Regions from separate parts of the Homo sapiens genome. Here all the other regions are linked to region 2. The links are contacts of gene promoters, found by promoter capture Hi-C in blood cells and fetal thymus (Javierre and others, 2016). All regions are on one chromosome and are shown on one strand. The core of a region is centred on a gene start or on the middle of the fragment in contact, and the rest is flanking DNA. Distances in the headings are between cores, read along the strand shown. Region 1 overlaps GOLGB1 (golgin B1). Region 2 holds the start of KPNA1 (karyopherin subunit alpha 1). Region 3 overlaps GOLGB1 (golgin B1). Region 4 overlaps IQCB1 (IQ motif containing B1). Region 5 overlaps SEC22A (SEC22 homolog A, vesicle trafficking protein).

Region 1 (5,436 bases), core at 727-3,226, 780 kb before region 2:
AAAAGTCCTAGAAACAGTAACACCTCAGTAGCAATGAGCGCATCCAGATCTCGATTTCTAAATTGCCAATCTCCAATAAAAGGAACTAGGGCTCCTTGGAGAAATGGCTGCCTATCTAGGGTTGGGGCAGAGAGCCAGAAAGTAAGGAAGTGTTCAAAAAAGAAAAAGAAAAAAAATGGGGTATGTGACCAGGAGCCAATCTGAAGGAGCTCCCAATGATCAAGGCTAGAATAATTTGAGTCACAGAATAAATAACAATAATATTGGATTATATGGATTATAACCCAAATAAAAAATTAAATACCCATCAGTCAATACTGATATAAATAAATCATTAAATAAATTAATGGTAGAGACAAATCTTCCTTACAAAAGAATTCCAAATAATTTATGTAGATACGTCCCCCTCTAAAAATGGAGCTTAATTCCCTCTCCTTCAGTATAGGCTGGACCTAGTGACTCACTTCCAAAGAATAGAATATGAAAAAAGAAAAACAGCAACATCAGAGTGGTGAGACTTGGCAACCACCACCTCAACCAAGTGATCAAGATTAACATCACCAGTGATAAGTCATCGTAATATCATGTAACCCCTGATATAATGTGATGAGAAGGGTACTTTACCTCTGGGGTATTCTTCTGCAAAACCCGTAAGCCCAGTCTAATCATGAGAAAACACTGGGAAAACCTAGATTCAGGGACATTCTAAAAATACCTGACCAATACTCTTCAAAACTGTCAAAGTAATGAAAAACAACAAAAAACTAAGAAACAGTCACAGATTAGAGAAGACAAGGAGACATGCTGATTAAATGCAAAGTAGGCCGGGCACAGTGTCTCACGCCTGTAATCCTGGCACTTTGGGAGGCCGAGGCAGGCAGATCACTTGAGGTCAGTAGTTCGAGACCAGCCTGGCCAACATGGTGAAACTCCGTCTCTACTAAAAAATACAAAAATTAGCCGGGTGTGGTGGCATGCACCTGTAGTCCCAGCTATTGGGTAGTCTGAGATGGGAGAATCACTTGAACCTGGGAGACAGAGGTTGCAGTGAGCTGAGATCGCACCACTGCACTCCAGCCTGGGTGCCAGAGTGAGACCCTGCCTCTAAATAAATAAATAAATAAACGCAAGGCAGTATCCTGGATTAGGTTCTGAAACACAATAAGGACATTACTGGAAAAAATGGTGAAATCTGAATGAAGTCTACCTATAGTTTAGTTTATGGCATTGCACCTATGTTCTCTGTTTTGAAAAAGCTACCATGGTTGTGTAAAATGCTAACATTAGAGGATGCTTTGTGTATACAATAACTGTCTGTCTAATCTTCCCAAGTTGTATGTAAATCTAAGGTTATTCCAAAATCAATTTACTTTTATAACCACTGTGTAGGCTACATATTCAGATCAGTGTCAACTGCTAGTCCATAAAGTCCATGAAAATGAGAAGCATATTAATGCTTTGATAGGAAAAATCAAAATAGAACTGGACTATGCATAGCATTAGTTTACGTGATTATGCCTAATTTTACATTTTGTGATAAAATGTTATTTGGCTTTTAAAACCCTCAGCAGGGGCCGGGCGTGGTGGCTCATGCCTGTAATCCCAGCACTTTGGGAGGCTGAGGCGGGTGGATCACGAGGTCAGGAGTTTGAGACCAGTCTGACCAACATGGTGAAATCCCGTCTCTACTAAAAATACAAAAATTAGCCGGGTGTGGTGGCACGTGCCTGTAATCCCAGCTACTCAGGAGGCTGAGGCAGACGAATCACTTGAACCTGAGAGGTGGAGGTTGCAGTGAGCCAAGATTCGCACCACTGCACTCCAGCCTGGGCAACAGAGCAAGACCGCGTCTCAAAAAAAAAAAAAAACCTCAGCAAGAAGAAATATAAAAACTATTGTACAAAATAAACACTTAAATGAAACTAGGCTCTGCTACAGTTTTCTTCTACTGGGGATAATAATAGTGTTTAGGGCAGCCATGGTTCTTAAGAAAGAAGTGATGAGAGATACCTGTTTTTTTAATAGATTGTCTTGGGTAATCTAAGTAGCACATCACTTGGAAAAGATACGTGAGACAGAAATAGAAAAAGTGAACTGTTCCCTAGGAAGGCAGCGCAGGATCATATATAACTTCATATCTAAATACTGGAAGGGCAACACAGTGTCATACATGAGTACATAGGGCCATATATAACTATTTATTCAAGATATGAGAACCACAGCTATAGTCAGGATTAAAAAATCACAATTCAGCAGTATACAGATTCTAAACTTTCTTTTCAACTTTAGAGATCATATTTTCTTTGGTTAACTTTTAATGAAGGAAATGAATACCATCACTAAAGAGTTTCTTAAACATATAGATTTCTGCTAATCAAAGAAAATCATAATGGAACCTAACTTATCAAACAGAATCACTTTATCTTCAGATTTTTCAGACCACTTTGGAACAAAGAAAACAAAATAACCAACTGATGGGATTCTGAGAAGATGGGAGTAGCAAGGGGCCCCATGGATTTTGTATCTTCCTTTATTCCCACATAAAAACAGACAAAGCAACTAGGTAACAAAAGATCCATGGACAGCCTTTACCAAAAAACTACTTAACAAAGTTTCCTACAAACCCCAAAATAAACGTGGATATAGACAAACCGCCAATAGTCAAAAGATCTGGGTGTCACTGGTGTTCAACTGGGAGGAAATTGAGGGAAGCCAGAGGAGTACAACACCAAGAGGACCTCAAAAGAGCCAGTGGGCATTCACTGGCAAATGCGCCAAGCCAATTACAGAACAGTAGTTGATACAAGGAGGGGTCTTCCCATTCCAATAACAGGTACCTGCCAGGGGCCTACGAGGGCTGAAAGAGCTGAGGCAGTCTGGACCTTTATTAATTCTCAGAACTGAAGAGTTGGGGCTCTCTTCCAGGATAGGGTCCCACACTGAGGAGAATCTGCTGAGAGGAGAATTAAAATTAAGTGACTAAGGAAAGAGGAGGTCCAGATAAAGAGCAGGTGAAAGTGGCAAGGAAAGAAAGGCAGGAAATCCGAGAAATCCAGCTGCCATATAGTTGAACAATGTCTGAAAATAGCACAAGAGGAAACCTTATCAAGTTAGAAAAGCTGTATAAAATCTCTTTCTAAAAGTTCAGCAACACTAAATTCATATTAAAAATGAACTACTGAGGCCAGGCGTGCTAGCTCATCCTGTAATCCTAGCACTTTGGGAGGCTGAGGTGGGAGGATCACTTGAGCCTAGGAGTTCAAGACTAGCCTGAGCAACATAGCAAGATCCCATCTCTACAAAATTTTTTTAAAAAGTCAGCCAGGCATGGTGGCACATGCATGTAGGTCCAGCTATTCAGGTGGCTGACGTGGGAAGACTGCTTGAGCCCAAGAGGTGGAGGCTGCAGTGAGCCATAATCACACCCCTACACTCCAGCCTGGGTGATAGAGTAAGACCCTGTCACAAAAAAGAAAAAAAGAGCAACTGAAAAGTCTCACAATTCAGATACATTACTAGAAGAAAAAAAAGGAGGAAAACGATCATGATAACATCCCGACAGAAAATGGAAGCACGTCAGAGAGCCATGCTCAAAAAAACAGTTCAAAACTATAACCACTTAAATCTACTGAAGGAACTAAAAGGCATTAAAAATGACATAAGATGTGAAAAAATAAACATCAGAAATAGAAAAACCCAGAAATAAAGTGAAAACAAGAAGTGACTGAAAAATTTAAAAAATCATTTTGGAAATGAAGATGAAACTAGAAGGAACAAGAAAATGAGTAAATATAACAAACCATGTCATTAAAAAAAAGCAAAGTTGAAATGAAGGATAATTTTAAAAATCAAAAAGAAATGACCTAAAAAACTAGATATGCAACTACCTTATGACCCTCAATTCCACTCCCCAGCATTTATCTTAGAGAAAAGAAAACTTAAGTTCACAAGAGAACCTGCTGTATATAAACATTCATAGCAGCTTTATTTCTATTAATAGACGGTTAAGCAAACTGATATATACAGGCAAATGGTTAAACAAACTGGTACATACATCCCATCACATACTTCTCAGAAATAAAAAGCAACGAACTACTGATGGACCCAACAACTTAGATGGATCTCCAGAAAATTACATTGAATGAAAAAAAGCCAGTCCCAAAAGGTTACATATTATACAATTCCATACTTCTATAACATTTTTGAAATGACAAAATTTTAGAAATGGAGGAAAGATGAGTGATTACCAGTGGTTAGAGAGGGGTTGGGGTGGGAAGTGACTGTGGTCATAACAAGGCAACACAAGGGATCCTTGTGGTGTTGCAGCTGTTCAATATCTTGACTGTGGCAGTGGATACAGGAACCTACACAGGTGATATAACACTGCAAAACTTAATGATACACATACATACATATACAAATGAATATACAAGTAAAACTGGGGAATATATCTATCTCAATATCCTAATTGTGATATTATGTATTAGTTTTGCAAAATGTTACCACTGGAAGAAACAACAAAGTGTATAAAAGAGCTCTGATTATTTCCTACAACTGCATGTGACTCTACAATTGTCTTCATATTTAAAAAACAAATGAAAAAGAAATGAACTAAATGCAACATGATATCCTGAATTGAATCCTGGAACAGAAAATGGACATTAATGGAGAAACTGGTGAAATGTGAACAACGTCTGGAGTTCAGTTAATATTAATGTACCAATGTTGGTTTCTTAATTTTGTACACTGCTAATGTCACATGTTAATCTTAGGGAATACTAAGCAAAGGATACACCAGACTTCTGCACTATCTTTGCAAATTTTCTGTAGTAAACTTTCTGTAGTGATCTGAAATAATTCCTAATAATTTGTTTATTTTTAAAAAATGTAAGAAATTAAGAGTTACATAGGATTTGCGAGAAACAGATAAATATTGAAGATAAGTAATGTGAATAACAGGATTCCCTGAAGAAGAAAAGCAAAGCAAAGAAACAGCACAAATATGAAAAACCATAATCCAAGAATATTTATTTGAAAATTTTTTTTAAAAAGATTTGAAACTACATCTTGAAAGAGCCCACAATGTACCTCAGAATGTCAACTCAGAATGACCAACAAAACACTCTAGTAAAATTACTGGACTTAAAAAAATCCTTTAGGCTTTAGGCTAAAAGATCATATGACCAGTAAGATAAAGAAAAAAAAGCACTAGATTTTTCAACAGCAATGTTTTTGCCAGAAAAAAAAAATGAGTTACAAATTTAAGATATTCAAGAAAAGAAAAAGTGAGCCAAGGATTCTATTTCTGGCAAACACAAACTTTAGATATAAAAAACACAGACAAAATGTTATGAACGAGCAAGAAAATTCATGAAATATGAATATTCCCTTAAGCCTTTCCTAAAGAATTTACTAGAGGCAAAACTTGAGGCAATC
Region 2 (5,517 bases), core at 2,295-4,794:
ATTATCCACATTCTGGATTACTGCCTGCTTTCAAGAACTGTCCCAATTAGTCTACAACACTTGGACAGAACCATTTTTTCATGTTGTTTTGTAGGTTTGTAACATCTTTAAAAAAAAGAAAGAAAGAAACATACATTCCCACAGTCTTCATCCCTACTCTTCCAATGTACAACCTCAAAATTTTCTAATGCAGGCCCTATCTGGCCCTCAGTTGGCCTCAGGCCATCTCCTGCTTACTGCAGCAAAAGACAGAAATCAGCCCAAATCAGCTAATTTAACTGTTTACCATTTCCAGTGTTTTCTTCCCTATTATGGCTAAATTCATAACACCATGCAAAGTACAAAGATACCTTAAAACAAAACAAGGAGTTATCTTTATCACTAGGTCAGTCATCTTTACTTGCAAGACCAATCAAAGGTCTTAACTGATTTTATACACAGTACTCATACATCTAAAAACAATCTGGTAGACTTAAAAGCACAGACATCATAAATCATTAAAACTCTATTTTATCATTAATTCAACAAACACTGTGCTAAAACACTGAAGATGCAAAGAATAAGATATAATCCTATTCTCAAATGTAAAGGGAAAAGGGAAAAGGTAAAAGGACCATTGAGAGCAACAGAGAATAAAGAAAATAATGCAAGAAACAACTGACAGCAATTCCAGGTTACGTATAAAATAATTCTTAACATAGTTGAGACTAAAGAAAATTATAAAAATTGAACACAGCTCTGAGACTCCTGACAGTCAAAGTATAGAGAAACAGGATGGCTTACAAAACAAAAATAATCTAATAAAACCAATCATTAGTTTAAAAAAAAAAAGCTTAATACTGGGGTCTTAGGAAGAATTTGTCTCTAAGGTCTGTATTTTATAGGAACCAATACATAAATTAGAAATTTCTTCATTAGATATTAATGAAGAAAAGATGTTTTTAATGGCCCCTTTGGTAAGTATCAGCTCTAGATAAGATGTATATTAAATCATAGTTCTGTGAAGAAACTTCTACGAGAACCACTTTATAAAGTAACATAATGCGGCTGGGCGCGGTGGCTCATGCCTGTAATCCTAGAACTTCGGGAGGCCGAGGAGGGCGGATTGCGTGAGCTCAGGAGTTCGAGACCAGCCTGGGCAAGACGGTGAAACCACCCGTCTCTACTAAAATACAAAAAATTAGCCGAGTGTGGCCTCATGCCCCTGTAGTCCCAGCTACTCAGGCAGTCTCAGGCAGGAGAACTGCTTGAACCAGGGAGGCAGAGGCTGCAGTAAGCCGAGATCGCGTCACTGCCCAGCCTGGGCAACAGAGCAAGCATCCAAAAAAATAAATAAATAAAATAAAAAATACCATAATGCAAGTATAGTGATTTCAGGTGATACCTTTCTAATTTAGTTTATTCTAGGTTTTCATAAATGTATGTTTTGTTGCCCTACAGGACTGTAAACTCCTCAAGGCTTATGTTGTCTGCTTCCATTTGAACTGCCTTTACTATTTAGTAGAGTGCTTTACAGTTGCTACTCAACTATAATAACTGACAAAATGTTATGCAGTCAATATTTGTAATATTAGCTTTCCCTGCTACACTATAAATTCCATGAGAACAGGGACAGTGAGTTTTGATCGCGACTATATCCCCCCAAGTCTAGAAGATCACTCTGTAAGTATTCGCTGATTGAACGGATTAAATAAAGAAAACAACGAAAAAGTATGAAAGGAGAGAAATAATTTAAATGGCAGTAACTTTGGGTTCTAAGGTTGTTCTCAACAAGAACTGGAAGACCTTAGGTAAGTTACTTAACATTTGATTGTCAATGCTTTCATCTGTAAAATAGAAAAATTAACAGATACTTCAGATTCAAATGTTTTTAATATATGTAAAGCATTTAACACAATACCTGAAAAAAGAACTCAATAAATGTTAATTCCTTTACTTTCTCTTACGTCTCATCTATCCATAAAACAGTGTCTTCCAAGAATATTTCAGTAAAAATACAACAGAACTCATTCTTACTTTCCTTTGAAAAATTAAATTTTCATCTCTTTGATCTTTAAAAAGGAGGGAAAAATAACTTGTGTACTGCTTTCAAAATATTACAAATGCAAAAGCTAGTTAAGACAAAAACAATGTCGAGAATGAGCCTTGCTGGTGGCATCCGCCTGTAGTTCCAGCTAGTAGGGAGGATGCCTTGAGGCCAGGAGTTCCAGATCAGCCCGGGAAACAAAGCAAGACTCCATCTCTTAAGAAAAAAAAAAACAAAACAGGAGGGGGGAAATCACTTCATCTACTAATAGAGATTTTTAAGCAACCGTTTATTTAAGAAAAAAGGGTGAAATTCAAGTTAATATTACTTGACAGTACGTTTCAGAAAAAAAAATACTCTGCAGAGCTGGGTGTGGTTGCCCAAGACTAGTCCCAGCTACTTGGGAAGCTGAGGCAAGAGGACAGTTTGAGCTCAGGAGTTGGAGTACAGCCTGGGCAATATAGCGAGACCCCATCTCTTTAAAATACAAACAAAAACTCGGCAATCGTTTGTTCTGAGTTGAAACCTTAAAAATCAAATATTTTGAACGCTTTCATTTAAAAGTGGAACACGACCCAATCCTAAAACATTACTTCATGACGACTTCCTTGACTCCAGTCATCCTTGTTTCCTCCTCCCGTTTTGAGCTTAATCCGATACCTCGCTGCTTCCCTCGCATCGCACACGCGGCGTGCAGACCAAGTTCTGTCATTGCTATAATTACCACACCCCCGATCAGCCGCTCCAGGCCCATGTTGTTATGACATCGGTAAACTGCAGCCGGCCGTCTCCACCCCCCGCTTCCCCCACCTCCCTCCGGGCCGCCGGCTCCGACCCGGTCTGTAACTTGTGAATTCCCAAGACGGTCCCTTTTTGCCAGGGTTAGAATTTTTACACGCCACCCCTGCTCCTTCCTGCCTCTGTCACAGCGCTCTGCGCGGCCCACCCCCGCCTCCCGCCCGCCGCCCGGCCGCGGCGCAGGCTCCGCGCTCGCCTCCTCTCCGCCCGCTGCCTCGGCGCCCCGCAGTCCCCGGCGCCGCTTACAGCCCCGCCGCCGCGCCACGCCGCCCCGCCCCGCCTAGCCTCGACCGGCGTTCCCGATGGCGATCACACCAGGGCTCCCCACCCCCACCCTCTCCTCCGCCGGCCTTGTGGCCGTTAGGACAGCCGGGCCCGTGACGCACGGACGCGGCGCGAGCGTCCGGCCCAGGAACCCCGGCTCTAGGCCCTGCCGGCACCCGCCCTCGCCCCAGGGCCTCTCCTGAGTCCCTCCGGGACTGCCCGGATCTGCCGGCGGGAGGGGGAGGGGCCGGGGCCGCAAGGCCCCAGCACTCACCAGGCTCAAGGCAACCGATCCCGGTGCCACCGCTGAAGTTAGCCCCTCGCTCGCCCGCCCGCCGTGCCACTCCCGCGCACAACCTCGAAGAGCTGGCCCGCGCCTCGGCGGTGCTCACCAGGCCTCGCTCTCCGCCGCCTCGCACCGAGCAGCGAGACTCAGCTCAGCCGGCGTTCGCAGTGCGCCTGCGTGCGGGGGCCGGCCCGAGCGCCTACGCGCGCCCCTCCGGCGCTTGTCGCAGAGGCTGCCGGGAGACGTAGTCTTGTAACGCTCTCTCGCCGGACATTCCTAATGGTTAGCGCCCAGCCTGTGAAGAGTCGGGGGTCGGGGAGGGGGTCTCGCTAAGAAGGAGGTTTGCAGACCATGGCAAAGGTTGGAGAAAGTTATATGTACAAACCTGTCTTTGCTAAGCTCTTCCAGGGCGGATCGATGCTCACCTCTGTATAGCTTCTAAGTACCTAATACGCGTTGATGGAATGAATGATGGAATGATTGAAGGCTGAGGGAGTATTACAAAATTAGTAGGTCAGCGCCTCGTGTCTAAAGGGCTCACATGCAGCATGAATGCAGGAAGCTTCTGGACATTCCTTTTTTAGTTATCTCCCATCCCCTTTGCTTGATAACGTATGCGTAGTATCAAAAATAATTAAGGGCCGGGCGCGGTGGCTCACACCTGTAATCCCAGCACCTTGGGAGGCCGAGGTGGGTGGATCACTTGAGGCTAGGAGTTTTGAGACTAGCCTGGGCAACATGGCGAAACCCCGTCTCTACTAAAAACACAAAAATTAGCAGGGGGTGGTGACGGGCGCCTGAAGTCCCAGCTACTCGGGAGGCTGAGGTGGGAGAATCACCTGAGCCCGGGGTTGACGGTGAGACTGCAGTGAGCCGAGATCGCGCCACTACACTCCAGCCTGGGCAACCGGAGTGAGACCCTGCCTCAAAAATAATAATAACAATAATAATAATAATAATAATGAAACTACATGAAACACATACTCGTTTTACTCTCAACTGCTCTCAAACGAAAACTTGGAGCAAATGATTGCTAATGTTAAATTTCATGGAATTCTTTGGGGGAGCAAATGGAGTAGTGGCTTCAAAAGAAGAAAAACTGAAGCCAGCCTAGCAGGGATCACGGAATAGTAGACAGATTTAAAACACATGCCAAGAAGCAAGGTGAAAGAGATGAGGTAGATTAATACATTTATAAATGTCCCAGGGAAGAGGAGAGGAGAGAGGACCACTCTACCTGAATCCTAGGTTATGCAATGTTCATTTGTCCTGGACTTCTCTCTGCTGCATCAGCATTCTCCCGCTGATGTTGTGTTTACTAAGATCAGAGTTGAGTTTGAGCAAGGGGGCTGGGGAAAGGGAAGGTGTGTTCAACAGGAGAGACTTAAGGGCAAGTTTGCCTGACCACAGCTAGACTGAAGACAGATCACCTTATTCCAATAAGGAACTAAGACTGATTATTCAGAGCCGGTCTTCAGTCTTTGGGAAAGCTAATTTATTTCCGGTTCACCCTTATTCCTAGCTAGTCCTTGATGGTCCCATCCAAAAGTCTGGGGTATTTACTAGGGCCTCTTCTCTTTGGTGGGCCTTCTAAGCCCCATGAGACAGCCATAAGCTCTTCTCCCTGTTTCAGCCACTGCTTTCAGAGTCAGCAATCACCTTAGCTTTGGAAAAATGATGGCAAATATCAGGCTAACCTCTGGTGGCTTCCTTTTTCTTCCAGACCTTGCACTCACAAATTCTCACTTCCTTGGTAGCTCTTCAGTACATTAACGTTTTTATATTTTGTTCAGTTGTTCTCTGTAGTGGAAAGGTTGATTGAAAACAACAGTAGGCCATTGCTGGAAGTTGAATTCCTATGTATGTTACTTTTACAAAAATGTTATCATACCATACATGGTGTTTTATAAGCTACTGTCTCTCTGACAATATCATTTTATAGTTTGAGAAATTTGAAAGTATAGAACAGTATTTTTTACTGTCACAAACAATGCTGCTGTGAACATTCTTGTACATCTCTACTGTGTATAGGGAAACTGCTAGATCCTAGGACATTGCATCTTTAACCTTACTATATGTATCAGGCAGAAATCTAAGATGGCCCCCATAATCTCTGGTCCCTGGTGTTGCCTATATAATCTCC
Region 3 (5,852 bases), core at 2,194-4,693, 800 kb before region 2:
CCCCCCACCTTGACCTCCCCAAAGTGCTGGAATAGCAGGCGTGGGGAGGCCTAGCCCTAGGCATTTTTTACAAGTTCATTTTCCCTTTCCCCCTTGAAAATGGCTTTAGGGTTTTTGTTTTCTTCACTCTCGACTTAGGTATTATGGATCCCACCAAGATTCCACCACATGGTTTTAAACATCAGCATGCTTAAGAGAACAGCTTGCTCATGTAACACCCTGGTCTTGTGTGATGCCCTTCAAAACTGTCTGGCTAGGGCACAATGGCTCACGCCTGTAATCCCAGCACTTTGGGATGCCGAGGCGGGCAGATCACCTGAGGTCAGGAGTTCGAGACCAGCCTGACCAACACGGAGAAGCCCTGTCTCTACTAAAAATACAAAATTAGCCAGGTGTGGTGGTGCATGCCTGTAATCCAAGCTACTTGGGAGGCTGAGGCAGGAGAATCACTTGAACCCAGGAGGCAGAGGTTGCAGTGAGCCGAGATCATGCCATTGCACTCCATCCTGGGCAACAAGAGTGAAACTCTGTCACAAAAAAAAAAAAACAAAAAACAAAACTGTCTGGCTAACATTCAGTTATTCAATACAAATTTTCAACTTAATTGTTTCTAAAATCTTTCCTTTATGTCTATGTCAATATATTAGTAAAGGTTATAATTTGGGGAAGAGGATTGGTGAGATGGAGTATTGGTGTTGAGGAAGTTTCACTTTTTAATTTATAAAGTTCTAAAATGTTCAATTTTTTATAGGCACATATTACTTTTATAATAACACATTTTTTAAAAGTTTCCTTTATACCTTCATAAAGGATAAATTTTCACCTGTAAGACAAGAAATCAGGTGAAAAGAGATTTTCACCTATAAGAAAAGCACTGAGATCCATCCTTCTTCAGATTTATGGATAACTCCATGCAATTTAGTCTCCTAACCTATGCACCTAGATCTGGCCTGAGTTTTCCAAAAACTAATTCAAATCCTTCTCGTTTCAGTCATTGAATCCTTCAGATCAGTCATATTTAACATAGCATTCTATTTAATATCTGGAACATCACTATCACATTTTTAGTATTGTAATGATAATTATAATATTAAGAAAGATTATAGCCAGTCAGAGGCAAGAAAAATGCATCAAGAAGTTCAGAAGAGCTGTTTTTCTCAGTCCTTCTATTGGTTCAATTGGTTTGAGTACAGATTTCATTAACAGATCCCTGAAAATATGAAATACAAGCCACTCAGATGGTAGAGATGTGGACTTCAAAAGCAATCAGCTACTGACCTTCCAGTTGCTGAATGGTCTGGGCTGACTGAACTGCTTGCTCATTCTTATCTTGGAGAAGCTTTGAATTTTGATCCTTTAGAGCATCACAGGCAGACTGCAGCTCTTGTCCAGTCTTTTGAAGACTCAAAATATGAGAGGTCTTCTCTTCCATTTCTGCTTTGTGCTTCTGCTCCAAAGCACTATACCGAGACTCTAGTTCAGCCTGGGCTTGGCCTGCTTGCTCAAACTGTTCTAAAAGATGATGCATTTCTTCCTGCAGATTATGGAAGGATAATTTTCTCTCTGCCACTTCAAGTTCCATCTTTTCCAGTAGAATCTTGGACTCCTCTCTTTCTGTTTCCACAGTGTTCCTCAAAGTATTATGCTCAGCTTCCATCTGCTGTAACTGCTGAGAGAGAATCTAAGAAAAAAGACAAAGTCTCATGAGCCATAAATACATTATTTCATTTCAACAAGCATTGTAAAGTGCTTTTTCTTATAGGATGGAAAAAAATGGGAACATGTTTCTATGCTAGAGAGAAAGCCCTTCTCAAGAAGGAGAGTTGAAAATTAAGAAGAGAGGAGATGGCTGACTCCCCAGCAGCACACAGGCACCCAGAAAAACAAACAGAGAATGTGGACTATAGCACCAATTCTGCATTATGATGAGACTACTTGGATGTGACAGGATAGGAACACAAGGAATCCAAGGGGTAGAAAAAAGGTAGTTCAAACTGTCAAGCATGGGTCCATATAGGACACAGAAAGGAGCAAGGGTAAGGAAGAATTAACATACTAGAGAAGCAAAGTGGAATTCAATGGAATTCAATGAGAATGAAGATCAGGACAATATGAGAAAGAAAATGGCAGGATGGATTATAGTCAGATCAGCATTACTGATTACCTTCATACTCAAGAGAATATTGCAGAACGAGATCATTTCAATCTAACAGAAGGTCAATTTACAAAAACAAGAAAAGATGGGCTGTACATAAAGCACAAAAACCATTCAAGACAGAGAAGAGTAACTGATGAAAAAGAAACTCACTAAAGGATAATACAGGTCAAGTATCCCTTATTCTAAATGCTTGGGACCAGAAGTATTTTAGTTTTCCATTTTTTTCAGATGGTGGAATATCTTGGATATCTTGGGATAGGACGCAAGTCTAAACATGAAATTCATTTGTTTCATATACATCGTATACACATAGCCTAAAGATAATTTTATACAGTATTTTAAATGATTTTGTGCATATTTGCCTTTGATCTGTTACCCTGTTCCACAAGGTCAGTTGTGGCATTTTCCACTTGTGGTGTCATGTTGGTGCTCAGAAAATTTCAGATTTTGCAGCATTTTGGATTTTCAGATTAGGCATACTCAATCTGTATGACATTCTAGATAAACTAGGACCCTAGATCTAAAATGGCAAAGGGAAAGAGCAACAATAAAGAAGTGCAATGTATGCTCCATGAGGGAAAGAACTGTATTTAGTTTTGCTCATAATTGTACTGCATCCCCACCACTTAAGTACGAGGTATTTGTTGAAAGAATGAATAAATGGCATCAATTCTCTGAAGACTTTAAATAGGCTTTTATATCTACTGCCTGGCAAACGAAAGTGGAAATGAATACCCTCCAAGGCAGGAAGTAAAGATTAAAAGGCAGTACCTGGTTTCTCTGCTCAGCAGCAGTCAGCTCCTGTTGCAGCAAGTCAACGACCTGAGCACGGCCCACCAAGGATTCTTCGTGTTCCTCAAGCTTCCTTTGCAGCACCCTCAATTTCTGAGAAGAAAACATTTTAGACATAATATGCTAACAAATGAGTGCTTGTATTTGCTTATCTTTCAAAATGTCATGTAGATTTGTATACTTAAATTTTGGGGTGTTGAAAATGACAGTTTAAAGAGTGGGAGACCAGCATGCCATGCTCCCCCCATCCAGCAGCAACGAAGAGTCTCCAAAATGTCTTCTCCAGAGCACCAACAACAACCAGACCCAGACACAAGCAAGTCCCTGAATTAGGGAGTCTCTTTAAAAATTAGAAAAAACAATAACACATATCTGCCTTCAAAATCATACAGTTAATAACCTGTACCTAGATAGCATAGGTACATGTACATCTTACCCACCCAAGAGAACATTCTCTGCAGGCAAGAATCATTTCTCTTCTCCTAGTTTCATGCACTGGGCAGGCACTTGAAAAAAAATTGTTGAATAAATAAAGCAATGATACACATATACAATTAGTATTCTACTTAATAATATGTTGTATTCTAAAACTTTATTTAGTGGTGCATTCTGAAAGATTGCTTAGAACTTAAAAGTTTCCGTTCTAATTAATTCTAATTAATTTTCAATCTAATTAAACAGATCAAACATAAAGTATCACTGAAGTGCCTTTCAGTACCACAATGCACTACACACTAAGTGAAATAAAATACTTTGAGTTAGTAGATGGTGAACTCAAATACAATGAAGCCAATTTTCAAAATCTACTCAAATTTTTTTAAAAAAGAATTACTGATCTAATAAAAGACTTCATGTCTTCAAAATCATTCTTTGTCTTCTCTAATTTTTTAAATATTTAAAACTGACTTCATTGATTTGAAGCTTTGGGTTAGGTGTGTAATGCACAAAGGTAGCTATAATCAGAAAACTGAAGAGAAACCAATTTTTGACTACCACATAAATTCACCAACTAAACTCAGCTTTTGAGCACCAACAACCTGATTAGAGGGGTAAAAGGCAAGAAAAGGATAAGAAAAAATAAATAATTTTTATGCAACAGAAGACAAGGACACAAAAGAGGCCAATAAGGAAAACACTAACACCAAGTGAAGAGCAGTGGGTAAGGGTAGGAAATTGGCTGTGATGGATTAAATATTAACCAAAATGACAGTCATTCTACCGAGTTTTAGCAACACACCTGTTGCATCTCTGTTTCCACATCTGCCTGGGTTACTAACTGAAGAAGCTCATCTTCATGAAGACGAACTTGTGTTTCAAAGCGGGCATCTTTCTCTCGGACCACCTGCTGCATGGAACTCAACTGAAGACACATACCAGAGAAACTATGCAAGTTACACTCCCCGAATATTGCACAAATAAAACTCACAGACTACTTTCCAAGACAGACACTGAGACTTGATAGTAGCTTTTTAAAGTGAAATTTTGATTGTCAAGGATGAGGATGTTGGAAGAGAGATAGGCTGGACAGTAACTATGAAATGCGAGAGAAAGCCTATTTTCAAATTCAGAAGTTAGCCTAAACATAAATTTTGATCAAAAATTATATGTTCATGGTTACTAGAAATGTTTTAAATATACAAGAAGTGTATTTTTTAAAGTTCTAAAAAGATTAAGATATTAAACACATAAGGTGAAGTTAAGTTAGATTTCTATTAAACCCTGGACACTTCTTGCTCATGGCTGAAAAGCTTTCAGTAAAATTCTCATGCCCTATAAATGAAAATTCAAACTAACATATCATTTATTCAAGATTCTCTACAACTGGAAATACCAATCTATCTTTCTAGTCTTATTTTCAAAGAATTGCTTCTACCAAAGAACCTCATGTGCTTCTAAATCCACACCACCTCCCCAGACAGCTGTTTTCAGCTGTCATTACTTGCAGCCTTCTAGATCATGCTCATTTTTAACTGGCTCTGAACAGAATGAAATGGAAATAAATGGACTGATGGTGAGCTGCTCAGTATCAGTGCTTCTGTCTTGTTTTTAGGTTGTGAGTGTGTGCATCTGCTTATTCATCTCCTTAAGATCTATGGTGGAGCATGCTGCTTAGCTGTTAGCTTGCCTATTTTGCATTGGTCCTTTACTGCTGATATCTCAGTTTGTGACACCTTGAATCAAACTTTGGCTTTCTTTTTTGGTAGGAGAAAAACAAATCCTCAGAATGTTTTTATTATCTGAATTGTGACCTCACTAGGAATTTGGACTCTTGTGTTTCAAGTGTGTAGGCACTGGAGTCTTTCATTAGCCAAACATCTCTAACTCCTTTCCCATAACTGTTCCATATTCTTTTCCTTCTCTGCAGTTTTGCTCACACCGTTCCCCATCACTGAAATATCTCCCCCAGCTTGTCTGGAATATTATCTATATATCATGGTTTTGCCTAAATCCCAACTTTTCCGTGTAATTTTCCTTAACTGTCAAACTCACAGTAACCTCTTTCGCCTTCCAAAATATTTTGTTTGTATTGCTGCTTGCTTTGGCACTTATTCGGAAAGCCTTAAATTACGATGAATCTCTTAACACATGTATGTATCTTGGCTTTCCATATTTTAGCAACACATAGGTTAAAAACCATATTTTGTATTTCTTCATCCTGCACTGTATATAGTGCTTATACATAAAAAGGACACAATAAAAAATAAATAAAAAATTTAAAAAGGACACAATAAAAGCTAATAGGTAAAACCAAGAATTTCAGGATATACAATTTTAACTGTATACATAGCAGTAGGCCAACCACAGAGAGAAGGCACTACTAATACTACAAATTATTAATAAAGTAAACACCTAATGGATAATTAGCTATGTACAAAGGTACTTCAGGGAAAAAAATCTTTCA
Region 4 (5,386 bases), core at 1,021-3,520, 680 kb before region 2:
ATTTGGGTTGCTTAATGAAATACACAGTTGATAGCTACATTGATATAGTGAAATAAAATGTTTCTTTATCAGTTCTCCTATAGTACTTGCTTGCATACTTTCATTTTAGCACTGATTTCATTCTGCTTTGTATCATATACTTACATGACTGTCACCCAATCTCTATTTTAAGTTTCTCAGGTACAGAGCCAGTGCCTTAATTTCTTCACTTCTTTAAAAATTCCTTAATCAATAAAAAGTATATTAGGCACTTGGAATTCAGTGGTGAGAAAAAAAATGATCACCATCTTCATTAAGCTTGTGGAGGAAAATTTTAGACAGTCAAATAATCTGAAGTAAAATTATGAATAATAACATATAATATGAAGGAAAAGTACAACCAAAACCTACAACAGGAGGTTGCCAATGCTTGTTAGGCAGATAAATAAAAAGCAAATGTTGAAAATCAGAATCAACTACTACATCCCTCAAGAACAGCTGACTTACTGCTTTATTTTACCTTAATATCTGTGTAAGCTGGGAAATTGTAGTCCAACCACCCTGGATTCGAGAATAATCTTGACTGAGGACCAAGAGGCAATATTGAATGAGATCATAACAATATATATCTTGTTTGATTTTCTTCAACTCTGAGCTTCCTAAAGGTGTGATGTTTATTATTTCTAAGGCAAAAGGAAATAAGATATATTTATTTTTGCTTAATACATCCAGGAGCTATTTGTATTTTTATATGTTGAATAATCACTAAAAATATATTAGAAGGAAAAATTACTGTTCTATTATAGTGTTAAGACCTCTCTGAACAAATTTAAAAGAAATGTTAAAATTGTACCAACGATGGAACCATTTTTCACTTAAAATGCTATCTAATCACAAAAAGATTTTCTTACCTTTTAACTTCAACAGTATAACAGGGACATTCTGCTCAGGGCTTTTTGCAACTTCAGCAGCTATAGATAAGATCCTTGGGTCTGTACCTGTTGGCTTCATTTCTCTTATTACCTATATTTTAACAGAATCAGAGAATAAAGGTCAAAAAGCCAGGAAATGTTCACTACCTAAATAATGTTTGAAATATAATTTCAATATAAATAAAAACAGCTTTTCTTGCCTTGTTTGAGAGGCAGAATGTAGATTTTTTCATTTCTTCCTTATAGAAAACTGGTTTTTCTAACCAGTGTAAAAGAGCTCAAGATTCCTATACCTCACATGTAACAGCTATAGCAGGTATTGTTTATTGTGCACTCACTAAGAGTCAGGAACTGTGATAGGAGCTTCACATTCTCTCTCTAATCTGCACAATAATTCTAGGATAGGAATTAACTTCCTTTAATCACACAAGAAGAACTGCAAAAAAGAGCTAACATGACAGGCCTAAGACTACTATACTTTCAAAGGTGTGCTTACAAGGTTGGCCTTTGACTGGCATCTAGAACTTAGATTTCAGGAGGGTTTCTGCCATTCTCTGGTAAGAGTGGCTCCCTGTGCCTAAAACTGTTTATGAAAAACAATGTGGTTCATGCTGAATACCCGCCTTCCTTCCAGGAGTCTTAGAATTCTGGTACATGCCAGTCGAGAGTACCTATACAGAGGGTGCCTATGTGGCCATCCTCCAATAAAAATTCTGATCACTGAGTGTCTAGTTGAGCTTCCTTGGTAGACAACACTTCAAACATGTTGTCATAGCTGGTTGCTGGAGGAATTAAGCATATCCTACGTAACTCCACTGGGAGAGAACTCAGAAGTTTGTACCTGATTTCCCCCAATATGCTTTTTCCCTTTGCTGATTTTGCTTTATTTCCCTTCACTGTAATAAATCATAGCTGTAAGTACACTATATTCTGAGTCCTGTGAGCCCTCCTAGTGAAGCACTGACCTTCAACACACTAATGCTCAGAAATGTTACATAAATATAAGATAATCAAAGATTGCTTCTAAATAGTATAGTGAATAAGGCCAGGGGCAGTGGCTCACACCTATAATCCCAGCACTTTGGGAGGCCAAGGTGGGTGAATCACTTGCGGTCAGGAGTTCAAGACCAGCCTGGCCAACATGGTGAAACCCCATTTCTACTAAGAATACAAAAAATCAGCTGGGCATGGTGGCGCGTGCCTGTAATCCCAGTTACTCAGGAGGCTGAGGCAGAATAGCTTGAACCTAGGAGGTGGAGGTTGAGTGACCTGAGATCACATCACTGCACTCCAGCCTGAGTGACAGAGCTAGACTCTGTCTCAAAATAATAATAATAATAATTAATAAATAAGTAAATAGTATATTGAATAAAATCAATTCTCCTAACATTAAAAAACAAGGTCCACATCCTAATTTGTTGCTAAAACTTTCTCTATGTAAAAAAAGTTTAAGGCTGAAGAATCGCTTGAGAATTGGTGTTCAAGACTAGCCTGGTCAACAAAGCAAGACCCTGTCTCTAAAAAAAAAAAGTTTTAAAGCATTTGAAGCTCAAAGATATCCTTATATAATAAAAGCGTATTTCCTTATTTATAGTAAAGCTAACATGTATCAACTGTTTAATATAAGCTAAGCACTATGTTAATATACTATACACTGTCTTGTGTAATCCTCACAACAGGGCTATGAAGTAGATAGAGCGTGTGATCATTTCCATACATACATATATACATATACATATATATGTTTTTGTCCACAGTTTCTGGCTCATAACTCCCATAGCCTTTGTTACAGTCTTGTTATGTTAGGGTGCTTTAGGCCTCAGAAAACAGAATCTATTTCTGACTTCCTCCTCTCCTCCTTTCACCTGCTCCTTCTCTCCAAAGCAGAACTCTAATCATCCCTGCCTTTCTCTGACCTATCTTGTCTAGCTGTAGGTCATAAGACCCCTGTTTCAGAATGGGTCTTGCCCTATATCCTGGAAGGAATGCTGAACAGAGAAGCCAAGAAGAATCTGAGCAGACAGGCCTTGCTGGGTTTCCCCACTCAGTCTGTTAGTATCAGATCATATCTTTTTTGTCCAATCACATTTCCAAAATGATTGTCCATGCTTCAGTCATGCCTATCCATTGAAATCTCCATAAAAGGCTCAAGAGGATGGGGTACAAAGAGCTACTGGATAGCTGAACATGTGGAAGTTCCTGGAGGAATTTCCTGGATATCACAGGCAGGGAGGACATGGAAGCTCTGTGCCCCTTCCCATACTTCACAGTATGCATCTCTTCATTTGTATCCTAGTATTTTTTTTTGGAGACAGGATCTCACTCCTGTTGCCCAGGCTGGAGGACAATGGTACAATTATGGCTCACTGCAGCCTAGACTTCTCAGGTTCAGGTGATTCTCCCACCTCAGCCTCCCAAGTAGCTGGGACTACACTTGCAAGCCATGACGCTCGGCTAATTTTTTGTATTTTTAGTAGAGACAGGGTTTCTCCATGTTGCCCAGGGTCTCTGTAATATCTTTATAATAAACTGGAAAACATGTTTCCCTCAGTTTTGTTAGCTCCTCTAGCAAATTAATACACCCCAAGGTGTGTATTAATAGGATTCCTCATGTGTAGCTGGTCAGTCAGAAGCACAGGTAAAACAACTTAGGGCTTGGATTGGCATCAGAAATGGGGGTCCCTCTTGCAGGACTAAGCCCTAAACCTAAGGGATCTGACCCTATCTCCAAGTAGACAGTGTCAGAATTGAATTAGATGATACCCAGCTGGTGTCCGCTGCAGAATTGATTGCTTGCTTGTTGGTGGAAGAAAACTCCACACATTTGGTCACAGAAGTCTTTTGTGTTGATTGTCATGATGTGAGAGCAAAAACTGTTTTTCCATTCATATATCTCTTATTAGGTACAATATAAATCATTAAAAGACAGGTTTGCTGAAAATACCTTAAAGAAAGCCCAGTGCAACTCCCGGCACATAGTAGTCACAAAACTTTCAAAGAGAGTGCATATAGTTATCTCATTCTCTCCAAATGGCTGCATTATGCTACATTTCCTTTTAAGAATGCAGCAAAATATATTTAAACATCACCTCTACTGGAGGTCACTCAAGCTGTATGCTATTACAAGCAACACTGCAATGAATATACACATGATCCTTTACATTTTTGCCAATCTGTTAGATGAAAATTGGTATGATTGTGTTTTAATTTGTATTTCTTTGATTATTAGGGATGTCAGGCACATTTCGTGTTCACTGGCCATTATTTCTTTTATGTATTTTCTATTCATATCCCTTGACTATATTTCTATCGGTTTGTCTTATTCTTTTGCAGAAGCTTTTCATACATGGATAGGAATCTTTTCTCTTTTATATTGGCTGTAAAATTTTCTCCTTGTCATTTATTTTTTTAAATTTGACTATGGGGTCTTTACCATAATTTTACAATTTTTTTTTTTTTTTTTGAGAGAGAGTCTGACTCTGTTTACCCTGGCTGCAGTGCAGTGGTGCAATCTCAGCTCACTGCATCCTCCACCTCCTGGGTTCAAGTGATTTCATGCCTCAGCCTCCCAAGTAGCTGGGATTACAGGCGTGTGCCAACGTGCCCAGCTAATTTTTGTATTTTTAGTAGAGATGGGGTTTCACCATGTTGGCCAGGCTGGTCTTGAACTCATGACCTCAAGTGGTCTGCCCACTTCGGCCTCCCAAAGTGCTGGGATTACAGGCATGAGCCACAGCGCCCAGCCATTTTTACAATTTTTACATATGAAATATAACAATCTTTTCCTCTATGGCATCTGTCTTTTGTGTCCTGTTTAGAAAGGTCCTCTCTAACCCAAGAGATAAAAAACATTCTCCAAATCTTCATGTTTTTTTGGTTTTGTTTTCCTTACATATCTTCTAAAGTAAGGTATTTTTGTGAATGGTGTCATATAAGAATCTAATTTTTAATGTTAAAGTTATTGATGGATTAAAAAATGCACACAGTAGTCATAAATTCATAAGGTAACTAGTTATGAATAGACATAACAGAAACAATCTGAAACGTCACATTTTCATGCACTATGTATACATACACATACACAGGGTATCTTTTTGGACTCTACTTAGTTTCTAGTAATTTAATCTGTTTGTCTATTCTTGAGCTAGTACAACATAGTTCATTTTAATATATGTTTGGAGAAAATTCACCTCAGAAGGTAAGCTTCATGAGGGCAACCTACCTATCCCTTAGAGATGATTAAATGAGTTAATACATGAAAGCAATTGGAACAATTCCTGGCACATAGTAAGAGCTCTCCAAATGGTTATTATTAAAGCCCAGTTCTACCATCATACTACATTTTAAGACCATCTTTGCTGGCTGCCTTCTTATATCTTTGGTTCACAACTGTATTCCCAGTGGCTAGACTAGTACCTGGCACGTACTAGGATTTGCTAAATACAGGTTGAAAGTATGAGTAAATGCACAAACCT
Region 5 (5,920 bases), core at 1,457-3,956, 690 kb after region 2:
GGGGGCGAGCTTGAGAACCAGTCCCTCCTATGCCTATTCAGCCAAGGCAAAGCCTAGCCCAGAGCAAAAGTATCAGCCACCAGACTGGAGATGTTGGGATCTTCAGTCAGGGGAACAGCCACTTTTCAAACTCTGAATCACTTTCCATGTTACTGATATTTGCTTACATGCTAAGATTGTAAGGAATCAGGCAATGCCTTAAACGGTACCTACAATTTCTGATATATTAAGGTTCATTCAGTATTTGACTCTGACACCTGTGACCATATCCTAAAGTAATGGGACATTCGGGTATTTCCTATGTTGAAAACCATCACATCTGTTTAGTGCCTTTTTTTTTTTTTTTTTTTTTTTTTTTTTTTTTTGCGTGCAACTGGTTAAAATCGAAGTATATCTTATGTTGGTATATGAAAGAGGCCTAGGTCTTATCACAGGGGTGCCTGTGACCTTCCTTGAGTGTCTCACAGAGTTGTTAGAATTGGGCCTGAGTTTAAATCCCTACTTTGTCACCTACTCGTTTAGGGATTAAAAAAAATTCCTCAAGCTTTCTGGGCTTGAATTTCCTCAAAGGTAAAATGGAACTAATAATACCTATCTCACAGGTTTTTGGAACGCTTAAATGAGGTAATGTGTATAAAGTGCGTGGTCCATGGAGAGTAATCAATAAATAATACAGCAAATATTTAATGTAGTGCTTTTAGCATGTTACAAGGCAATGTTTCAGGCACTTTACATGATCCTATGAGATAGATACTATTGTCATCTTTAAAACAAGCCTATGAGATAGATGCTATTAGTAGCCACAATATATAGATGTGGAAATTGAGATATAGAAAGGCAAAGCTTGTCCAAATTTACATGGCTGGTAGATGGTGGAGCCAGGATTAGAACCCAGGCAGCAAGTGAATAGATAGTTTCTATATCCCTGGTTTCTTGTGTCTTGTTGGTTTTGGGAGACTGATGAAGCATAGTGATGTAGAGATACTAGAAACTTAGACCGAAGTACCAGTTCTGCTATATACTAGCAGTGTGACATTGAGAAAGTGAGCCTTAGTTTCCTCATCTGTAAAATGGTGGTTTTACCTACCCAACCGTGAACTATGTGGCACTATAAAAATGTTGGGATTGACACATTTGAGCATGTATTGGGGGCCCTGTCCTAGATGTGGGTAAAATCTGTTGTGAAGCCTGAGGTCTTATACATACTGTGCAGTGCAAGCACCCATAATAGGAATGTCGAACACTGCTAGTGAGGTAGAAGGCATAGGCAAAATGGCGGAAATTCCATCCCCTTTATCACCCACTCTATCCCCCACCCTCAGCGAGCACTTTTAATAAAATAATATGTACCATATTGGTATTGTTTCCCAAACTTTGGTACTGTCACATATGCAAGATAATTTGATAAGCAAATGAACATTAAAAAATTCTCCCCAAATTTTCACACACATACATATTTGAATGAAACAAGTTCATTTAATTTAAATTAGGAGAAAAACTTAACATCTCAAAACTGATTTCACAGATATTATTGCTAAAAAATAAAGGACAAGAAAAGTAAGTCAATTCAAAGACCAATATTAGGTAAATAGTACAGGTGGATGAAGATAATTCTGAAAGTGGTACTTGGATGACTGAAGACTGGGAAGTTATGAACTAAAATAAATATGAGTGCTTTTGCCCCCAGTATAAAATGTTTTTATCTTAAAAGTGGCATTTGTGAAAGCATTTGGTTAGAACGTATATACAAAATCCACTTACATGTTGGGCTTTGTTTATTACCTTTTGAGAGATAACTTCCTGAGACATTGAGCCTGTAGTCATTACCCCTACAAGGTTCTGAAGAAGAGGGGTGTCTTATTATCTTGGGTCCAGGAACTTGCTAACCACTACTATAGTAGTTTGGCATTGTGGGAATTTATTTTCCTCAGCCTTTACATAAAAGTTTACCCAGATTTACCTAGATTCTAGCTTGTGCTTTTTCCTCCAACAGTTGCTGATGGGGAGAGGAAAAAATAGCCACTATTCAGGTTCCCTGTGAGTTAACTGCTGCTGTACAAAGGCAGGTGTAATATTTTCTCTGTATTAAAGGTGAGGAGAAATGGCCCAGTGCCCTAAACATTTATCTATGGCCCCGATAAGCTAAAAACTCCTAAATCTTCCCATGCAATTGTTGTAATCTCTTGCTTTCCACAGTTCCACTGGTTCTTCCTTGGGATTTTCCCAACCACAACCCTCCTTAAGACCTTAAAGATACTTTAACCTAGCTTAGGCCTGACATGGACAGATTTCCTTTTCTGCTAGCACAGTCCAGATAAGATTAGTTTAAAAAAAAACAAACTATATTATGAATCCGTGGTAAAAAGAAAAAAAGTAGGGGTATGTTTATTGAATTGATGGAGAGACAGCTTAGCCTAAGGTGGTTGGAATCTGTCTACAAATTAGTTAAGCCTGACGTTGATCATTGGACATTCATCCCCGTTTGTCAGGCTTAAATTCAAGTGCTTTGGATGCTGAATCAAATTACTGTGGTAGAAAGAGGTTTAATTTTTTCCCTAAGAAAAATCTTATCTATGGATAAGTAGAAACCATTCTCTGACAACCTTGTAATAATTTTGACAGGGAATGTAACTACTGTGTTCTGCTTTTGGTTAAAGGCTAAAGTACATATTAGGAAAATTTGAGGCTGGGCGCAGTGGCTCACACCTGTAATCCCAGCACTTTGTGAGGCCGACGCAGGTGGATCACTTGAGGTCAGAATTTGAGACCAGCCTGGCCAACACAGTTAAGCCCCATCTCTACTAAAAATACAAAAATTAGCCAGGCATGGTGGCGGGCACCTGTAATCCCAGCTACTTGGCAGGATGAGGCAGGGGAATCGCTTGAACCTGGGAGGCAGAGGTTGCAGTGAGCCATTGCACTCCAGCCTGGGCAACAGAGTGAGACCCTGTTTCAAAACAAAACAAAACAAAACAAAAAAACAACAAAAAAAGGAGTATTTGAAATGTAAGTTTGTCCAACTTTAGTTTTCCAGTTAGTGAAGTGGTGGGCAACACACCTGCATTGTTTGCTCTTTTCAACTGAGTTTCTCTAATTGAGGAGTGATGTTTCTTGATGGTAGGACTCTTCATTCCTGCTATCTGGCATAATTCATGGGACACATTAGATATTCAGTAAATGTTTGGTAAACGAATGGAACTTACAAATTGTATTCTTTTTACAGTATGTGTTTTAGAAAGCATGGATCATATATTTATTGATCTGTCCTCCAAGTCACTAAAGAATAACTTTGAAGACTACATGAAATTTGGCAACCTATTAATGAAGTCTATTCATAATATTTCTATTAGGATCCTAGAGAGGCCAGACATAAAATAATACAGTCTACTTTTATTTTACTTTTTGAGACAGGATCTCTCTCATCACCCAGGTTGGACTGCAGTGGCACAATCATAGCTCACCATTGCCTTGAACTCCTGGGCCTGCTTCAGCCTCCCCAAAGCAAGTACTATAGGCGTGTGCCACCATGCCCAGCTGATTTTTAATTTTTTTTATAGAGACAGAGCCTCACCATGTTTCTAGGTTGGTCTTGAACTCCTGGCCTCAAGCAGTGTTGGGATTATGGGTATAAGCCATGGCACCCCATCCAATCTGCTTTTAAATACTAAAATGTGGGTATTTAGAACTGCAAGTTACAACTCACCCTCAAATTAATTCCCAGAATGGTTATTGTGTTGCAGTGTACTTCTGGAAAGACAACAGTTTTATAGTTAAATAATAAACGCTTAAGGGGATAGAGTAAGACATTTTCCTACTTTCTTACACTTAGGCTAAATGTTACAATTGTGATTTAATAATTAAGTAAAACATGGTAAAAAAAAAATTAAAGAGGGGTTTATAGTATAGATATCTCTTCAGGGATCCCAACTTTTTCATGCTACTGCTTTTAGGAGAGAAAAAAACTAGATGAATGGAAAAAAACACCAATTGGGATATGTCACACTGGGACTTCAGTTTGAAGACTCCACTGTAGTAAAAAGACTAATTTGCTTCTGGATATTTTTCTCTTTAAATGAATGGAGAGGCTGGGCGTGGTAGCTCATGCCTGTAATCCTAGTACTTTGGGAGGCTGAGGTGGACAGATCACTTCAGGCCAGGAGTTTGAGACCAGCCTGGCCAACATGGCGAAACCTCATCTCTACTGAAAATACAAAAATGAGCTGGGTGTTGTGGCGCATGCCTGTAATCCTAGCTACTCGCGAGGCTGAGGCATGAGAATTGCTTGAATCTGGGAGGTGGAGGTTGCAGTGAACTGAGATCGCACCACTACACTCGTCTGGGTGACACAGTGAGACCCTGTCTCTGAAGGAGAAAAATATTAAAGGGTAATGACACAGTAACACCTAGAGATTTCTCCTTTTTCCTCATGAAAAGAGGAAAAAGGGATAGTGAACTTAATGCATTAGATTTATTAGTTGGGTTAATTTTTATTGTCAGATCAGTTATCACCATGAATGGGAAGTCATATTTTGACTTCACACAGCAGTGAAAACTATCAGCTCCTGATTTACAAGCTTTGTAACAACTGGTTTTCTGTGGTATTTTTTTTTATATATATTACTCATTTTTTCCTTTTTGGAATGAGATAATATTGACCTAGATTAAGTGGGCAGGTAAGGATTAATTTAGTCTCTAAGATACAATATTTTTGGAAAAATGCCTGTGAGATTTTTATCAGATTTTTGAATTTTCACCAGTTGCCTCACCACTAGTGAGGAAGCCTTTAGTGACATTGTGCTTTGATGGCCTGACAGAGAAGAGTTATCACTTAATCTTAGATAGTGAACATGTTTTAATTTAATGTTTTAAAAAGTATGGGCCTTAGACAATAAGCAAATTGTCAAGCCCTATCCCACAGTCAGTGGTTCAGAATTTTGAGGGCAGAGCTCAGAAATCTGCATTTTTAACTAAACTTTCAACTTCTTATGCAAGCTAAAGTTTGAGAGCCACTGTGTATTTTATGAAAGGTTGAGTGACTGTTGACCTGAGTTCCTTCAGACTCAGGCCTGTGAAGTCCTTTCATCTGTTTTTGTAAAGCAAGAAGAGAATCCAATAAAATAGGCCATTAAGATTTACTTTCTGGTAAAAAGATTGAGAACAACATTAAAACCAATATTCCTTTAGCTTTAGGATTTATTTTAAATAATTTTTTTCTGATTATAAAAGTAGTATATGTCTACTGTGAATATTGAGAACATTTAGGAAATTATAAAATAATAATAACCAATAATACCATTTCTTAGAGGTGAGCATATTCTTAATTTGGCATCTTTTTCTGCATCCGTTTTTCAATCCCTTTTTCCTTCTCTTTATCTTCGTCTCTTTATCCTTATGTTTGTGTAAAACAACATTTGCAATTTTTATCCTACTTTTTTCTCCTTAACATGTAAGCATTTTACCACATTATTAAACTTTCTCCACAAACATAACTTTTAGTTGCTGCATTATATTCTGTTATATGAATATACTATAATTTACTTAACCATCACCATTTTATAGGATATTTAGATTGCTTTCAGTTATTTGAGTGGAAGAATGTCTTTCTGTTTAAAATTTTGCCTGGATTTCTGATTATTTTTCTCAAGACAGGTATATATTTAAATTTATTGAGGTTAAAAGGTATGCCTTCAGACTCTTGTTGAAATTGCCAAATCATTTTGAGAACTGTTTGTACCAGTTTTTACTTCCATCTGTACTTATGAGAATGCCAGACAGAAGTATTATTTTTTAAAAAGCTAATGTGGCTGGGTGTGGTGGCTCATGCCTGTAATCCCAGCACTGTGGCAGGCGCCTATAGTCCCAGCCACATCCTATGCTGTGGCATGGGAACCCAGGCTGAGGCATGAGAATTGCTTGAACC

What was found. The method cuts DNA at HindIII sites, captures the fragments that hold promoters and counts their contacts. A CHiCAGO score of 5 or more calls a contact.
Region 1: a fragment that was not itself captured here is called in contact with the fragment with the promoter of KPNA1 in region 2 in 1 of 17 cell types (total CD8 T cells); the score reaches 6.3 in total CD8 T cells.
Region 3: a fragment that was not itself captured here is called in contact with the fragment with the promoter of KPNA1 in region 2 in 5 of 17 cell types (naive CD4 T cells, naive CD8 T cells, total CD4 T cells and 2 more); the score reaches 8.9 in naive CD4 T cells.
Region 4: a fragment that was not itself captured here is called in contact with the fragment with the promoter of KPNA1 in region 2 in 1 of 17 cell types (monocytes); the score reaches 5.2 in monocytes.
Region 5: a contact is called between a fragment that was not itself captured here and the fragment with the promoter of KPNA1 in region 2, in 4 of 17 cell types (naive CD4 T cells, fetal thymus, total CD8 T cells and 1 more). The highest score is 7.5, in naive CD4 T cells.

What each region holds. Positions count from the first base shown.
Region 1 is chr3:121,735,799-121,741,234 of GRCh38, forward strand. All of the region lies in intron 1 of GOLGB1 (golgin B1), which reads right to left. Among named protein-coding and RNA genes, the nearest start is that of GOLGB1, 11 kb to the right of the region's middle. The HindIII fragment of the contact is 8,358 bases long and covers 1-5,436 here.
Region 2 is chr3:122,511,395-122,516,911 of GRCh38, forward strand. KPNA1 (karyopherin subunit alpha 1) reads right to left here and starts at 3,545. Exons shown (of 14, transcript NM_002264.4): 1 at 3,363-3,545. LOC107984000 (a long non-coding RNA gene) reads left to right here and starts at 3,635. Exons shown (of 2, transcript XR_924403.3): 1 at 3,635-3,734. RefSeq lists a silencer at 2,823-3,512. The HindIII fragment of the contact is 3,104 bases long and covers 831-3,934 here.
Region 3 is chr3:121,715,459-121,721,310 of GRCh38, forward strand. It overlaps GOLGB1 (golgin B1), which reads right to left. Exons shown (of 22, transcript NM_001366282.2): 7 at 4,188-4,310; 8 at 2,930-3,043; 9 at 1,279-1,681. Among named protein-coding and RNA genes, the nearest start is that of GOLGB1, 31 kb to the right of the region's middle. The HindIII fragment of the contact is 852 bases long and covers 3,018-3,869 here.
Region 4 is chr3:121,827,971-121,833,356 of GRCh38, forward strand. IQCB1 (IQ motif containing B1) reads right to left here. Exons shown (of 15, transcript NM_001023570.4): 3 at 891-1,002; 4 at 500-662. The coding sequence starts at 990. Among named protein-coding and RNA genes, the nearest start is that of IQCB1, 4.4 kb to the right of the region's middle. The HindIII fragment of the contact is 3,950 bases long and covers 296-4,245 here.
Region 5 is chr3:123,202,723-123,208,642 of GRCh38, forward strand. All of the region lies in intron 1 of SEC22A (SEC22 homolog A, vesicle trafficking protein), which reads left to right. Among named protein-coding and RNA genes, the nearest start is that of SEC22A, 3.7 kb to the left of the region's middle. The HindIII fragment of the contact is 3,731 bases long and covers 842-4,572 here.